3 separate regions of the Homo sapiens genome follow, and all the other regions are linked to region 3. Evidence: promoter capture Hi-C in 16 types of primary human blood cells and fetal thymus (Javierre and others, 2016). All regions are on one chromosome and are shown on one strand. Each heading gives the region's core, a stretch centred on a gene start or on the middle of the fragment in contact. The rest is flanking DNA. Distances are from core to core; before and after follow the strand shown. Region 1 holds the start of APOL1 (apolipoprotein L1). Region 2 overlaps RBFOX2 (RNA binding fox-1 homolog 2). Region 3 holds the start of RBFOX2 (RNA binding fox-1 homolog 2).

Region 1 (3,418 bases), core at 734-3,233, 220 kb after region 3:
TCACTGGAAACAGTTAAGCTTAGAAACGGAGTCACTCCAAAACCTGCCTTTGTTTTTGCTTCTAAGCAGATATTTGCGAAGACAAAAGGCAACATGTTCCCCAGGTAGCCTCCTTCACAAATTGCTCACAAGGAAACTCCTTGTGGGTCCCAGCAGTTTTTACCCTGAGGCAGACTTTGTGTAATTTCATTGTGACAATGCAAATTAGCAACTTATCTTTACTGGTACATGATAAATAACAAGACTTCTGCCCACCCTCAGAAAAATGCACATATGCCTGCTTCCTCTACTCTATGTTCATTTTTATCTTATATAAAATGTAGACGAACTGTGCATGAGACGAATGAATAATTGACTGTTCCTCTACCCCCTCCTTTCATAGACAACCTGTGGATTCAAGGAGGGCTAATCAAAGCTTCACAAGAATGTGACCACTCACCTCATTACCTATCCTGTCTTTTTTCCTTTCCTCCTTCCACTCCTGCCTGATTTTACACATTTAAATACTGGAGGCCTCAAAACCCTCTGTGAAAAACGAGTGGACCCCAGAACCTCCTGTGACTTGTGTGACTTTTTCCTGGGTGCATCCTCAACCTTGGCAGAGTAAACATCTAAACTGACTGAGACGTGTCCCAGACCCTCTTTGGTTTACAAGTCTTGCCTCCTCCCTGAGTTGCTGGATGAAAGCAACGTCCTCTCTTCTTGCCTCAGTTTCCTCATCTGCAAAATCAGATCATAATCCTGGCCCATTGAGGGGATGATTATAAAACTCAATCAAATGGAGAAGCATTTGCAAATGGAATGTATTGCAAAGTGTATTGTGCAGTCCCTGTGTAATCACCATTCTCTTCCTGCCTCATAAGCTGGTGTGTGTGTGTGTATGGGTGGGGTGAGGTGGACACGATGCCCCCAGAGATGTTTGCTCAGGATGAAATAGGCCCCCATGGAAGGGTCAGGTTGGCTTCTGTGGTTTAGCTGCCTTTGAGGCCCTTCTGCCTGGGGCAAAGCACAAAAGTCCAATAGCAATCTGGTTGCATGACTTCCTAGTCATGGAAGTGTGGCTGAGCAGTGGTCTCTAGTCCCTCCACCCTGTGTGCCTCGGGAGTGGAACACGGGGCAGTGGCCTCTGCTGGGGAGGATGCTGGGGGATCTCTGAAAGGAGGCAATGCCTGATTTTGTCACTGAACGATGAGCATGATTTTTCCAGGCGGTGGAAGCAGGTGCTCCCGGCAGAAGACCCCATATAAGCAAATATCTAGAAGCCACAAGGCATGGCCTTCAACAAGAGCAGGCCTGGTGCGGTGGCTCATGCCAAGGTGGGAGGATCACTTGAGGCCTGGAGTTCAAGAGTAGCCCAGTCAATATAGTGAGGCACCATCTCTAATATAATTTTTTTAAAAATTAGCTGGGTGGTTGGCTGATACCTGTAGAACCAGCTACTCAGGAGGCTGAGGTGGGGGGATGGCTTAAGCCCAGGGGTTTGAAGCTGCTGTGCGCGATGACTGTGGCACTGCAATTCAGTCTTGGTGACAGACTGAGACCCTGTCTCAAAAACATAACCAAAATAACCCCAACGGCATTACAATAAATATACAATAAGCATCCACAAGGCATGTGTGGGAGACTGTGCTTATGCCGATGGCACGGGCAGGAGTAAGGCAGGCATCAGGGGAATGTGGATGCACGGGAGGATGGGGAGTAATCTGCAGGGTCCCATAGTATGTCAGTGGCAGGTCTTTCTCCTTGAGACCACAGCAGACCCCCAGCCCTGAGGATGCGAGGCAGGTGGGTTGGATGAGAGGGATCTGGATGTCTGGTCTCAGGCTGCTCCTCTAAGGGCAGCAGCAAGGAGGGTGGGGCTGGACTGAAGGTGGAGGGGAGCGTGTTTGCTGTGCTTGGTCATGAGCTGCTGGGAAGTTGTGACTTTCACTTTCCCTTTCGAATTCCTCGGTATATCTTGGGGACTGGAGGACCTGTCTGGTTATTATACAGACGCATAACTGGAGGTGGGATCCACACAGCTCAGAACAGCTGGATCTTGCTCAGTCTCTGCCAGGGGAAGATTCCTTGGTAAGTTGGGGACAGTTGACCTGCCTCCATCTTATTCTCACAGCTTTTGTAGATAAGCTGGGAGAGGTTAGGTGACTGGTTCAGATAGACAGGAAAGTAGCGGCAAAGCCTGGATTTGCACCCAGGCTTGAGTCTGATTGCTTCCCCTCTCCTGCTGGGCTCTTAAACTATAGAGGGTTGGGGAAACAGCTCAGATGGGTTCACAAAGCTCCCTGGGCTCAGCCCTGGTTTTGACTGCTGAGACACGACTGAGTGAACCCAGAAGGAAGGTTTGTGTTGGGGGTGCCCATCTCTTTGGGAAATTTGAAGGAACCAAAGAAGGTGGAGGAGAGGAGGTGACCCAGATCCCAGCCTGTTCTTATGGCCAGGCCACACCAAGGCTGGCCCCAGGGTGCTGCTGCTGAGGCCCAATGGGGGCAACAGAATTTTTTTTCAGGTACAAGGAGTTCAGAGGTCATCTCACCCACCCTGAGTCTGAGCACCAACTTGTGCCAGGCCCTGTGGGGAAACTGAGGCCCTGGGAGCGGAATGACTTGCCCAGGGTCCCGTGTCAGGAGGCTGAGCAGGTAGATCATAGGACTCCACGTCTCTGGCCCTCACCTCTGTCCCTCTGTTCAGACTTCTGGGGTGATGGAGAAGAAACAGGCTGTGCTGTGTCCCTAATGGGAAACGTGGCTGAGACAGGGGAGTGAGAAGGGTGCGTTGCAGAATGGTGCCTGTGGCATGATGCCAGCTTTGCAATCATGAGATTCAAAAGCCACACTGTGGAATTGTGAGTATAACTACAGGAGTGAGAGCTTAGATCTCTGTGTTCATAGAAGGAGAATCAAACCTGGAAACTTTTGGATTATTAAAATCAAACATTTTTGCTTCAATATTAGAGTCACAAGGGCAGATGTTGGCCTCCCCTCTGCCCTCCAAGAGCTGTGTGACTCTGGGAAATTCACCTCCCCTCCCAGCCTGAGTATTTTCCCCTGTAAAAAACCTGATAGAGCTGCCAAAAGTCCATGAAATCAGGGGGGTAATTTCTGTGAAATCTGAGTCATGGTCTTATTTGTTCTTCACCAAAAAGAGATGATGAAGCCTGTAACCCCAGTGCTGTGGGAGGCAGAGGCGGGAGGATGACTTGAGGCCAGGAGTTCAAGACAGCCTGGGAAACACAGGAGATGCTGTCTCTATGAAATCAAAAATTAACAAATTAGCCCAGCATGGTAGTGTGTACCTGTAGTCCCAGCTACTCAGAAGGTTGAAGGAGGCGGATCACTTGAGCCCAACAGATCTAGGCTGCAATGAGCTAGGATGGTGTCAAAGCCCTGCAGCCTGGGTGACAGAGCAAAACTGTTTATTA
Region 2 (3,079 bases), core at 299-2,798, 190 kb before region 3:
GTCTGGGGAATAGACACAATACATTGTGATGGCAGAATGCAGCATTTCTCACTGCCTAGAAGAGGTTGAACACTGGAGCCCACTAAGAAAGGTGCTACAATCAAAAGAGCAAAGTATTTACTGCAGGGGAGCCTTGTATTTGTGCCTGGCAAATTTCACATACAAAATGTTGGGAGGAAATGTTCAAAAAAGATTTGACAGTGGTTTGGAAATGTTGAAAAAAAAGAGTGAGGAATTATGACTTCGGAAGGGAACATGTGGGATACCAATAATGTCAGATCCCGGAGAGGAATGGTATACCAGAAGGAGACCAGGGTGGGTAAGGGGGGGCTGTATCACCTAGTATGACTGGTTCCCAGAAACTATCTGTCTACCATAAACAGATGTCCAAGAAACAACCCCTAGGTAAGGAATTACATGATGAAAAGTTCAAATTTGAGAGAGATAAAATTGTTTACATATGGCAATCTGTGTAGATCAGAGTTTGGAATTTCTCAGGGGAGAACAGAAAACTGGAGGAACAAAACCAGGAATTTGAGCTTATGCCTTATCACTGAGAGGAATGAGGAATGTCATTACTGTTCAATATGAAGATGTCTCCTGTAGCAATACAAATTTAAGTAATAGGTTGTCAAATATTAAGCTTACCTAGACTCAATTGCAAAGCTAAGGAGAAAGATAAAGGAAAAAATAGAGAAGGGGGCCAAAAAAGAAAGAGAAAAGTGTGTGTGATTAGGGGGTGACTAAGACGGAAAAAACAATTTAATGAGTCAAGATTGCTCGGATTTCATCATAGCTTCATTTATGAAATTCTGTTTATCTTTTCAAGAAAGCTAAGTAATTTTTAGAAAAGCAATACTTTTCAAGAGACAATCTTGGCCTCAGCGAAGAAATGATTATAACTGAAGATATGGAGCAATGTAGAAGAATTCAGAAAGAAACCAAATCTCTGGAAAAAGTGAGGCTTTTTTTTTTCATTGTAAAGGAACATAAATTCAGTCTCCAACCCACAATCCCCGCCTATCCTCCAACTCCCCAAATCCTGCAAAGCCCATAGAAAGTGGAAAGTGTGCCAAAACAAACAGTGTGGCTGCAGCTCCGTGGATGAAGGGTGGGATAAGGTTCGAGTGGCAAGGGAGCATGACTGGCAGGCAACCGAATGGAATCACTTTAAAGCAGTGCCACAAAATGGAGACTAAATGCTGAGAGGACCTCCAGAATTCAAAGAAAATGGGATATGCTTAGCAAAATCACAGAATAGATTCTCTACTCCAACTCCTTTCAAAAACCAGACAAACAAAAACAGGAAAAGAGAAAATGAAACAAAGCAAAACATACCTGCTCTCTTATCTGTCTTTAATTAAAGCATAAAATACCCTCCCTCTTCTCTTCTCCCAACCACCCAGGAACAGAAGAGCGAACTGGCAGCAGCTCAGGTGAAAGACTTCAGCCTTCCAGCTACAAAGAGGGGAGATAGCAGACAATGGAACTGGTGATTCATTACAAAAGAATACACTCCAGAGCGGCCTGCTGCCACATGGACTCACTGCACTATTTAAAGGAACAGCAACCCCCTTTCCAACCTCCCTTATTCCTAACACCTTCCCTCCTCTTGGTCCTGATGGAAAACAGATTTTGAAGAAAATGCCAGCAAAGCACTGAGCTGTCCAAGAAAGGGAGGGCTTTGTGTTCCACAGAAACTGGCAGTCTTATACCATAGTAGAGTACAAAAATTTTCTTTCACATCCATACTGTAAAATCTTTTCCTCTCTGCCTAGTACACTTTCCCTTTCAACAATAGATAGTATAACTGAATTTGAGTTTGGCTAAACATTTATTTTTTACTAATTAGTGTTGAAGTCATTTGCAATTTTGTTTTTCGAATTTTACACATAGTACAAGAATGATTTATCTTTCCTTCATATTCCATATTGCTATTTTCATAAATATGAGATGCAATAATCTGGTCTATATGCCCAAAAAATAAGAGATCTCAGTGAAATACTCCTACAACATACACATGAACAGCCGATAAAATTAACGTTTTAAGTATCACATAAGCATGTCTATCGGCTATATTAGAATTTTGTGATTAAATTGCCATTTGCTTTTTAGCAGAGCACTGATTACTTACTATAAATGACAGAGTAGTTTGATAATTAAAACAAAAACAGGCCCTATAAAAGTAGAGCATATGTAATAATAAAGCGCATACACTGTGCAAATACTGACAAGGATCTAATATGGTATGATGAAAAAGTCATTCACTGAAAGCCCTTTTCCAACAGCTGAGCAATGGAAACTGGGGACTACAGAGATGGTATCATCTGAAGATGCAAAGAACCTAAGTAGCAAAACAGTGAAAACACATCCATACATCGCTCTTACATTGTAATAAACCGTTTAACTTTGAAAACCCAGGCCTAACCACCAGTATAGACATTCTATATTGAGAAAGCTTATGTGACAGGTCATTATCAAATGTTGGGATTGGATGTCTGGCTCAAACACACACACACACACATGTGCACACACACACACACACGCAGGCACAACACAACACAACCACAGGACAAATGAAAGACTTGGCCCAGCTGGTTATTTCCTTTGATTGTTTTCCCCCTAGATTACTAACAACTATGTACATTACATTAACACAGAAAGTATATACAACAAAACAAATACGCTGGAATACTGAAAATTCACAAATTTGATATTCTATCCTTGCCAGTTGTATAATTTCAGGATGGGCAAAAACTCATAACTTTTCTTCAATATTTAGCACATCCTGATAAAACAGGTGATTTTATTATTAGAATTATTAAGCACCCCAGAATCTCTCTTTCCAGTTTCCATTTATTTCTTCTACTTCATTCCTAAACTTATGGCTTCTTTAAATACTAATTATTACGACCACAATATTAAGTGTGCATAAGCATGTGCACTCTAACTTAATGGTCACACACACTACACTTACCAGCTCCTCTAGAAACTAAGGGGAAATGTTCCAAGAGGCAATAGAAAACTCATCATAAAAATTTCCATTTTAGATCATTCTTTCACTAGTTTAAAAAATAAA
Region 3 (3,123 bases), core at 608-3,107:
GTGTAATGGAGACAGCACAGGAATAGGAATTAGAAGACCAGGCTTCTAGTTCTAGTTTTACTATTAGCTAACTGGGTGGCCTTACCCAAGTCACCATCTTCTCTGGACTTCTGATTCCCCATCTATAAAATAAGGTGGTTAAAACAAGCTGGGACTTGAATCTCCTCCAAAAAAAACAAAGATGAAAACTATTGACTCTCCTCCACCAAAAAGTGCACATCACCTACTATGAGTAAGAATCTTCCAAGTCTTCCCAGGTTAAGAACCCCTGGAAAAGATGATGTCTAGTCCTCCTAGCATCCCTCTAACATCCTATGACTCCGAGAGAATTAGGCACAAGTCTGCACAACTGTTGGTAGGTGAGACTCATCATGTCATAGCAGTATTTTCTGGGCAAAGACCAAATCGTAAAACCTCCAAAGGTTTCAAGGTCTTCTTCAAAACTATGAAGTCAGCTGACATCAATACCTTTCCCATTCCCTACCCAAATTAACCACGTTTATCTTTCAATCCAGAATTGAGAATCCAGTCTTCTAATAGCCCTATAAAAAAATTTTTTTTATAGCCCGGGACATTAAAGAGCTATTTTGTGTCCTGGTGATGTAGAATGCAATTGGCAAAGAACAGGAGGGACATGTCTAGTGTCTCCCTTCAGACTCATTAGTATGCTCCACAAAGTAAATGAGACTGAGCACCACCGTGTCCCCATAACATTACCAAACTCCTTGTACTTCTCACACTCTGTGTGATTTAACCCACAATCTCAGCCACATCCCCTCGGGGCTCTCTCGAGGAGTTTTCTTTTCACTCCTCTCATTGAAATGCCACTTCTCTTCCCCATCCCAGCGTGTGCCCAGGGCTGCCAAAAGGTACTCCCTCTTCTCGGGAGGTTTCCCACCAGATCTCCTTTTCCTCGACTCAGTCCAGAGAAGCCAGGATTTCCCGGCTTCCACTCCACCCCAAGGCACTAAGGAAGGATTTGAAAAAATGGAATCCATCTCAACCTTGTTCGATTTCCCCCCAAAACCTATCCACTCGTCGTGCCTCCTGGCCCCTCAGGAATCAGGACCCTCTCGGGCACACCAGGTTCAGTCCTGCAACCTTCGTTCCTAGCCCGAGCTCGCCCCACCTTCCAACCAGGCCCCGAATGGCCCCCCATCCCACCTCCAACCCAGGACTCCCGGAGGCCCTCCCTCTCTCCAAGCCGGGGAGCCCGGTGTCGACCCTCACGCCCACCCCCGCAATAACTGGGCGCCCCGTCCCGCGCGGTCACCTGCATCCCGCCGCCACCGTCGGCCGCCGCCTCCTCAGTGCGCGGCCGCTTGCTCAGGCCGGGATCGGCTCCGTCTCCTCCCGCTCCGGGCACCGGCAGCTCCAGCTCCGACTCCCGCTTCATGCCCCGGGCGGCGGCGCCGGGCCCGAGCTGAGGCGGCTGATGCGGCTGGGCGCCCTCCGCCATCCGCCCGCGCCCCCCTCGCCTCCGGGAGCCGGGCGACCCGCGACAGGCCACCTCCCCCTGGGCCTCGGCCCCGACTGTCGCGACAGGCGGGCGCGCGCCTGCCCCCGCCCCCGCGTGCGTGCGTGCGTGCGCGCGAGCGGACTCCGCGCCCCTCCGCGCCTCGCGGCCGCCGCTCCTTGCCTGACCGCTTGCTCCCCGCCCGCCCGCCCGCCGGGTTGTCGGCGCGGGGCCACTGGCGGGTCGTGATGAGCACTCGCTCGCGCCCCCGCACGCACACGCGAAACCCGGCCCGGCCCGCCGCGCCGCCCCGCCTCTCGCACTCCCGGAGCTCGCCCACCGGCCGCGCTGGCTCACACTCTCCCTCACAGCACGCCGGCCGAGGGAGGAAGGGGGCGGTCCGGGCTCCCGAGGCGTGGGGAGGGCTGTTTATTTTGGGGGGAGGAGGGGCGCGAGGCAGGAACGAGCTGACTGGCCGGGATCCTCCGACCCGCCACTGTGGCAGCACCGGGAAGGCGGGGAGAGAGAAAGAGGGAGGGAGGGAGGGACCGGGATGTAGAACTCCAGCCCGCGCGGGAGGCTACGGCGAGGGGGGCGGTGGCGGCCCGCGGGGGGGGCGGGGCCAGGCCCCCTCGGCAATCTCCGTAGTCTCCTCGCTGGCTGCCCGAGGGAGGCCGGGAAGCGATCGGGGAAGCTCGGGAATCTCCGGCACGGGCCTGGGATTGTCCTGGAGGCACAGCGCGGCTGGAGTGCGGGGCAGCGCGGGGGGGGCGGGGTCTGTCTCCTTTCTGGGCGGGGCCGTATCCTGGAGCAGGCGGGGCTTGAGAGACCCGAAGGCCAGGGAGTGGCTCCTGCTTGCGGTACTAGTTGTACAGAGTTAAGTCCTGAGTTTACTCGCCTGAGCACCTTGGTTCCCGGAGAGGGAATGGGCACTCTGTGAGAGGCAGGCTATTTGCCTGCTTCCCCTCCCGCAGAAGAAAAAATGTCTCAAATTGGAAGGTCGAGGAATGAAGCCACCCCTCTATGGTTCACCCCAGTTCTGAGAGCTTTTACTCTAATATAACTCACATTCCTAATGAAGTTAGTAATAATACCCGATGTTTGTAAGAGCTTTAGAGTTTGCACAATGCATCCACAGACCCGTTTCAAACTGGTGATATAAGTAGATACCATGATCTCCATTTCATTGATGATGAAACTGAACCTTAGTTAAATCCTGCAGCAAAAAAGTGGCAGATCCGGAATTCAGAACACGAGAACATATTCTCTTTCTTCGTACCTTGCTGCCTGAGGAGCACTTTATGACTTACCAACTTCGTGGAGATAGAGATATCTGTGCAATAGATTCTCTCCCCTACCAGACTGTGAGGACAAGGACTGCAGTGACTTCCTCTGAGTTCCATATCGTGCCCTGTACGTTATAGAAATAAAAGGATATTGCGTGAATAACCTGGATTCTAATCTTGGCTTTGCTAACTAGCTTAAACAAGTTACTTCATCTCTTTGGACCTCAGCTCCATCATTTGTAAAATGAGATGGTTTGGATCAGTGGCTTTCAACCAAGGAGAAATTTTGCCATTCCACCACCTCCACTCCCACATTTGTCAGTGACTGAAGGCATTTTTTTTTTTTTTTTTTTTTTTTTTTTTGAGACAGAGTCTCGCTCT

Evidence for each region. The method cuts DNA at HindIII sites, captures the fragments that hold promoters and counts their contacts. A CHiCAGO score of 5 or more calls a contact.
Region 1: the fragment with the promoter of APOL1 here is called in contact with the fragment with the promoter of RBFOX2 in region 3 in 2 of 17 cell types (non-activated CD4 T cells and total CD4 T cells); the score reaches 5.6 in non-activated CD4 T cells.
Region 2: a fragment that was not itself captured here is called in contact with the fragment with the promoter of RBFOX2 in region 3 in 1 of 17 cell types (endothelial precursors); the score reaches 5.2 in endothelial precursors.

The regions. Positions count from the first base shown.
Region 1 is chr22:36,251,150-36,254,567 of GRCh38, forward strand. It overlaps APOL1 (apolipoprotein L1), which reads left to right and starts at 1,984. Exons shown (of 6, transcript NM_003661.4): 1 at 1,984-2,070. RefSeq lists an enhancer at 2,037-2,096. The HindIII fragment of the contact is 9,856 bases long and covers 414-3,418 here.
Region 2 is chr22:35,834,982-35,838,060 of GRCh38, forward strand. All of the region lies in intron 2 of RBFOX2 (RNA binding fox-1 homolog 2), which reads right to left. Among named protein-coding and RNA genes, the nearest start is that of APOL5, 120 kb to the left of the region's middle. The HindIII fragment of the contact is 1,815 bases long and covers 642-2,456 here.
Region 3 is chr22:36,026,967-36,030,089 of GRCh38, forward strand. It overlaps RBFOX2 (RNA binding fox-1 homolog 2), which reads right to left and starts at 1,858. Exons shown (of 14, transcript NM_001349999.2): 1 at 1,274-1,858. The coding sequence starts at 1,459. RefSeq lists a silencer at 2,024-2,093. The HindIII fragment of the contact is 7,441 bases long and covers 1-3,123 here.